Linked DNA regions of Homo sapiens: region 1 is linked to region 2. The links are contacts of gene promoters, found by promoter capture Hi-C in blood cells and fetal thymus (Javierre and others, 2016). All regions are on one chromosome and are shown on one strand. Each heading gives the region's core, a stretch centred on a gene start or on the middle of the fragment in contact. The rest is flanking DNA. Distances are from core to core; before and after follow the strand shown.

Region 1 (3,158 bases), core at 436-2,935, 1.1 Mb after region 2:
CCCTGTCTCTACTAAAAATACAAAAATTAGCTGAGTGTGGTGGTGCGCACCTGTAATCCCATCTACTCAGGAGGCTGAGGCTGGAGAATTGCTTGAACCCAGGAGGCAGAGGATGCAGTGAGCCAAGACCATTGCACTCCAGCCTGGGCAACAGAGCAAGATGCTGTCTCAAAAAAAAAAAAAAAAAAAAAAAAAGAATTATTTTGAGCTCAAGGTACTTGAGCAGCAGCCAATACAGGAAGAGCTCTTTGCCTCCCCTTTTCTGCCTAAAAGCAGGGCACACATTTCCCTTTGTAAAGGTGACATAAATTTCCATTTGCAAAGGTGTACCCCTCTACCTTACTTTATCTGCATAACAAACCTTACTAAACCACCCTTATCTACCATACATTTCCTAGTCACTTTCCTGAAATTTACTGACCCCTAAGAGTCCAATACTTTTCTTTTGTCTCCTCACTTCTCCACAATTTATCGCCCTTTGTTAAAATGTTACGTAAGCTCCTGGGTCTAACTGCCTCTTTGGATTTTCATTTCTTTTCTATGGAGACCCCTTACAGTAAAAAAATACATATATATAGTAACATTAAATAAAATCTATATGCCTTTTCTCCTATTAATCTGTCTTTTGTCAGTTTAATTCATAGGCTCTATCACAGAACCTAACAGGGTAGAAGAAAAGATATTCCTCCCCTACATGACAAAAGCCAACATTACTAAGCTTTGACCTGGGCCACGCAATATCATGAGCATCCTACCTGCCCTTTCTTGTCAAATCTCCATGCCTTATGACACAGCTACTAGTGTTATCCCTATTCCACAGATGAGAAAACAGATAAGAGAAGGGTCAAGTGAGTTGCCCAAGGCCCAACATAGAAAGAGCCCCAGCAGGGAGCAGGGTACCCCTCTACTCCCAGCGTCTACTCCCAGAACCCAACACAGCCTCTCCCTTTGTGGGCCCTAAATAGATACTTGCCAAATGAGTAAATGAATCACTGAATACATGAATGATATGCACCACAATATTGAGAGAGGCTGTCTTCAGGTGGCAAAATGATTTCCATTTTCTTCTCTCTGTATTTTCTCTGTGTTTTCTTCAGTGGTCATGCGATACATGTATAACTTAAAGTAAAACAAATGCCTGTTTTAAAAGAAATTCAAAGGTTGTGGGTAATGTCTAGGTTCAGGAATATTTTTCTTCAATTTCGGGAGACTGTTATTTTCCTACTTAATTTAACCATTGTTTTTCTAGGGAAATTGAATAAAAAGCCCACATTTCCAAAGCTCACTCCAAGTCTGCCCACTTCAAACAATGAAGAGAGGGGAGTAATGAGAGCTGGCTCCCGCCTTGTATGCTAATGGCCGGGATTCTGGGATGCATACCAATCAGCCAGCGACTAGAACCAGGACTTTTACAGAGAGGAGGGCACTCTGGGGCCAGGCTCTCAAGGAGAAAGAGGGGTTCCAAAACTCAGAAATGCCACCTCATCTTGGGCCCAACATGCCAACATGGGCTGGCACCATCACAAACCACCTGCACTGCCCTGGACTGGGGATGTATCTGCAAGAAGGTGGTGTTGGGGCCTGGTCTGAGACCATCCTCTCAACCAACAGGCCAGTGGGAAGATGAACCCCATGGCAGGGAGCTCAGTGCTGGCTCTAACCAAGAGGTGGGCAGACCCTGGGCCTGTGGCCAAGTGGTCAATTATCCTTCCCCATTTTCCATAGCATATGGGCACTGCTGCTAGGGGCTGTCAAAGGCACAGCCGGGCCAGGCCCTGGGAGGGTTGGCGCTGCTCAAGGAAAGACACAAGAGTGGAGAGGCAGGACTCCGGGGCGAGCAGAATGTGGTGCTTCTAACTCTTGGTTGCTCAACCCTGGGCAAGTTCAATGGAGGCAAAACAGAGATAATGATGCACCCCACCTCTTGGAGTAGCTGAGAACTGAGAAAGCTCCCACGAGCCATGCACTACCAAGGTGCCTGCCACTCTGCAATTATGAGCCATTAGTATTAGCTCTTTCCTGACACCAGGCCTAGGGAGCCCGTGTGGGTACCAGAATTCTATTCTCATCCTTGCCCCTGAGCCACAAGGTAACAAACCCAGCTATGACCAGACTGGGCCTTGCCAACACTGAATTAAAAAAACATACATTAACTCCGAACTAAGAAAGGCAAAGTGTGCTGAGATTCCAGGCATGTGATGAATCTCTCCCTCCCCTCCTCAAAGGGAAAAGGAAAACCGCATAAAGGAGGGGAGCACGGGACTGCAGAAAGATCTCAGGGCCTGCCGGGTTCAAATCCTGCCACTTACAAACACAGTGCCCTTGGATAAGTCTCTGAGACTCAATTTCCTCATCGATAAGATCGGAAAATAGGACGTACTTGCAGGATCGGCATGGAAATTAAATGAATTGATGCATGAAAAATATCTGGCACCTATAGGCATAAAGTCAAAATCAGTTGCCTTTAAGCAAACAAGTTCTCAATTATCTGCCTAAATGAAGGACAGAAGCAGCTTTTCTGGTATCAATTAGCAATGGGGGGAGAACAGGAGACCCCTCTTCCCAATTAAGTTTTGTGCTTGATATTAACATGGATTTTTTTTGAGAATCCACCAGCCACAGATGCAGGGGCTGGAAGACCAGCAAGCTTCAGGGACAGCAGGAAACTACCAAGAAACCTCAAAGATTTTTAGGGAAGCAGGGTGATCCACACAGCACAAGGCCCCTGACAGGTGAGGTTTGTCAGATTTCCTTTGCTGGCACCCAGATGATGCTGTGCCTCCTGACTTGAGGAAGGTTCAATGCTTCCCCTACTCTGTTTCAAGCCCTGCAGACTTTTGATTCACCTGACACCAGAGCCAGACTGAACTCTCAATAATTCATGCCTCTGAGCCTTTGCACATGCCATTCCTTCTGGGTGGAGAAAACACACATTAACTCCCCTGGGTAGAAGGAGCAGCATGTGCAAAGGTTCAGAGGCATGAATTGTTCCCCTCTCCCTACCCCATTCCCCTGCTACACTCCGCACATCCCTCCACTGTATGTAACATGTGCACATGTCCATCTTCCAACCAGAGATCACAGGATGTACAAGAGCAACCGTCTGCCTCTACTCTCTCATGCAGGTCCTGAATCCATATGGACAGGTCATGCCCACT
Region 2 (3,290 bases), core at 683-3,182:
GCCGTCTCGCTGCCCAAGGGAGCTCCTCCCGGATCGCAGGCTGCCAGCCCACCCACCCCCTCCCTGCCTCCTCTCCCCTTCCTCACGCGCCAGGGACTCAAACGATCACAGGAAGAGTAATTTAAAAAAAAAAAGTCGCACATATTTCTAATGACTTCTCTGTGACACCCTAGGCTACCTACCCTCAGAAGCCAAATGATCCCTCAGTGACAGGTTGAGGCCTTCCATTAGTTTAAAAAGAAAACAGAACAAAAACACAGGAGCGGGTCTCTCCGCTGTGCGCTCCCAGCCTTTTCTCCAGCCAGGACCCGGTTCGCCGCCGCCCGTCCTATCGGGTCTCCCCGGGCGGGCGCTGGATGTTTAGGAAGGACGCTTTACAAAATCAGCTCTTTCTTCTCGTTTGGACATTGCCGTGCCCCTCTCGCCGTTTAGAGGTTCTCTAAACCTCGCCGTTTAGAGGTTCTCTCCCGGGAGATTTCCAGAGTGCGGAAGCCCGAGTAAAAAGTTTTAGGGGGAAAATCATTACTAATTATTATTTCCAATTAGTTTGTTTCCAGGCGGAAAAGCAGGAGTGTTTGACTGTGGCTTCGGAAGAAATGGATAGCCGTGGTAGTTGAGGCATATAAAGTATCACCCATGGTAGGTGGTTCGAAATAAAGGACTGGAAGACCAATCCCGGGGGTGGAAAAAATAATTCAAAACAAGAGTAGAAAGCTGGCAGCCAGCGAGCCAGGAGAGCCGAGAAACTGTCAGGGAAGAAGTGTCTGGAAATAGTGGAAAGAGCTGAAATTCACCAGGACCTGATATTTACTAGGAGTCCAAATCTACCAGAATTTCAGCCCTGCGGGTAAAGACCGGCAGCTAGCGACCTGCGAAACGAAGGCCGCCGGGCAGTGAAACCCACGCAGAAGCGGACAAGTATGGGTCCCAGAAACTCCCTGGGTTCCGCGCCCGGACTGGGACCCAGAAGAGAACGGGATCCCTCTGCTATCGCCGGCGCCGCCACCGTCCCCTGGAGACCGCAGCCTCTCCAAGGACCCCGAGTTCCGGGCGGCGGAGTCGCGGCGAGGCCAGCCTGGGCGTTCTTACCTTCCAAAGGGAATCCCGTGCGGGGGTAGTTCTGCCCCGGAGCCGGCCGCATCATTCTCGGTACCGTGCCGGGAAGGGCCGCCATTCTTGCGCACGCCGGGGACGAATCCAAAGTCGGCAAAAATCGCTTCCCGTCCGCTCCCTTCACCCCTGCTGCGATCTCTTTCTTTCCGTCTTCTTCGTCTTCTTTTTTTTAACCTCTTCTCCCTCCCCTCCACACACACTCCCTACCCCCACCCCCCACCCCTGGCTGCAGTCAAACGCGTCCAGAAGCTGGGGAGGGGGGTGAGGTGGGGTGGAGGTTGGGGGGAGGGAAGGTGGCGACGACGAGGAAGTTCAAACAAACAAACACTCCAACCCCAAGTCCGCCTCTGCCGGCTGGCCTCGGCCAGAAGTTGTGCGGGCTGATGCGCCTGGCAGAACCCGGAGACCAGGCCCCGCGGCGGAGGGGGGCCGGGGGAACGCGGCCGGAATCGAGGCCGCCAGCCTCAGAGTGGCGAGCGCCGCGCTCTCGCGCTCTGGCGCTCTGGCGCTCGGGGCCAAAGTTTCCGAGCCCGGAGACTGCGGAGTGGATTTCGTTCTCGTATTTATTTATATATTTATTCTCTCGCTCTCGCTCCCTCCCTCTTCTCCACGCCTTCTTTCTCCGGACCACACTCGCTTCTCCCTCCACACCAGCTTTCACAGCCCCGTCCCCTAGGAGACCCGGGGACAGACGGAAGAAGGAGCCTCCTCGGGTTTCAGGGCTGGACGGAGGAGACAGGGGGTGACGGGGTTGGGGAAAGAGAAATGGAAAAGCGAGGGGGCGCGAGTGATCAGCTGGGTAAGTTGTGCAAAAGTGTTCACCGAAGTACGAGGAGGAGGAGGAGGAGGAGGAGGAGGAGGCAGTGAGCGCGATCTGATAGGTTCGGACTTTTCTTTTATTCATGAGGAGGGAAGGGGGCCAGGGCGCAAGGGAGCGGAGGACCAATAACGAAAAGAAATCGCCAACGAATATTTTTTTCCCTCTTTTCTAATCCCCGGCTCGACCTCGTTTTGGGGGAGAATTTGAACCGCCGTGAAAAGAGAGGGAGCCGATCCCGGCGAGTTGGGGGCTGGGGGAGAAGGGGAGGGGGCCAACTTTGTCCCAGTGCCTTCCTTTGATGAATGGGCCGGATCCGCCGAGTCCCCGGCCCCCAGGTCGCCCACGGCTGCTCTCGGAGTCCCGGCTGTATGGGAATGTCTGCCTCGGGTCCGGCGCCTCTCTGGAGTCTCGCCTTTTCTCTGGCCTCCGAGGGCCAGAGTCCGCCCTATTTCTCATCTTCTCCCTCGTCTTACACCCTCTGAAATTCCTCCAGTGAGGCTCCCCGGGAACCGGCCTAGGGTGACTTGAAGGGAGGAATTCTGACCTTTTCTGTGTAATGTCAGAGCCCCGGTGTCCGGTTCTTACTCTACCTTCCTGCCGCTCTGAGAAGCCCCCAGTAACCGTATCTGGTTCCGAGGCTTGGCAAAGTGGGTCTGCCAAGTGCTAGGCACAGGTTTCTTCCTCCCCTTCCAGTTCCGCCCCGTGCAGACGTCTCCAGCCGCCGCCGTCCTCCTCAGGCCCCCAGGCCGGGCCTATAACTCCTTTCCAGCAGGTAGTTGGGTTTACAGGGAGTTGGTGCTGGTGTGAGGATCTGGGGGCCCAAAGAGGTGGGAAATGGGAGGGAGGGAGCCCGTCAAGACTTGATACAGCTCTGAACTCACCAACTCTGAGCTCCTTGCTGGTGGGTTTGAGGGGACGCCCCAACTGAATGATCAGGAGTCAGGGTGGGGTGATCAGAGGTTCCTGAATTCTTCGCTTTCTGAAGCCAGGGTGACCAGTAGCCTCAACCTCGGGACACCGAGTCCTGGGGGCGAAACGCCCTCCCAGCGGGGCAGGACGCCACAACTGCAGGCCTTTTGTCTCCCGGGGGAAAGAGCGTCTCTGGCCCCACGCTGGAGGCAAAATACAATAAAATGAACCCAGCCCTCAATCTCACCCCCTGCCCGCCCTCTCTCGGCAGTGGGGTCAGCCTTGTCTTAGCCTGGGGCGCTCACCGCTGGCTGGCCCCAGGGTGTCCCCATCCCTCCCCTTCGCCTCACCTGTGACCTTTGCCCCTTGCAGCATGTGACAGATCTCCCTCCTCTCCCCACTCTCCTAGCACAAGGGGCTCATCAGATTTTGGGGGGGCCTTCTGGGA

Evidence for each region. Contacts are between HindIII fragments. The CHiCAGO score rates a contact against its expected background, and 5 or more counts as called.
Region 1: a fragment that was not itself captured here is called in contact with the fragment with the promoter of PAX7 in region 2 in 1 of 17 cell types (endothelial precursors); the score reaches 5.1 in endothelial precursors.

The regions. Positions count from the first base shown.
Region 1 is chr1:17,545,684-17,548,841 of GRCh38, reverse strand. All of the region lies in intron 1 of ARHGEF10L (Rho guanine nucleotide exchange factor 10 like), which reads right to left. Among named protein-coding and RNA genes, the nearest start is that of ARHGEF10L, 7.6 kb to the right of the region's middle. RefSeq lists an enhancer at 1,145-1,789. The HindIII fragment of the contact is 1,929 bases long and covers 721-2,649 here.
Region 2 is chr1:18,629,488-18,632,777 of GRCh38, reverse strand. It overlaps PAX7 (paired box 7), which reads right to left and starts at 1,932. Exons shown (of 9, transcript NM_001135254.2): 1 at 1,090-1,932. The coding sequence starts at 1,174. RefSeq lists enhancers at 1-601, 1-609 and promoters at 1,149-1,425, 1,149-2,059, 1,463-2,248. The HindIII fragment of the contact is 4,552 bases long and covers 1-3,290 here.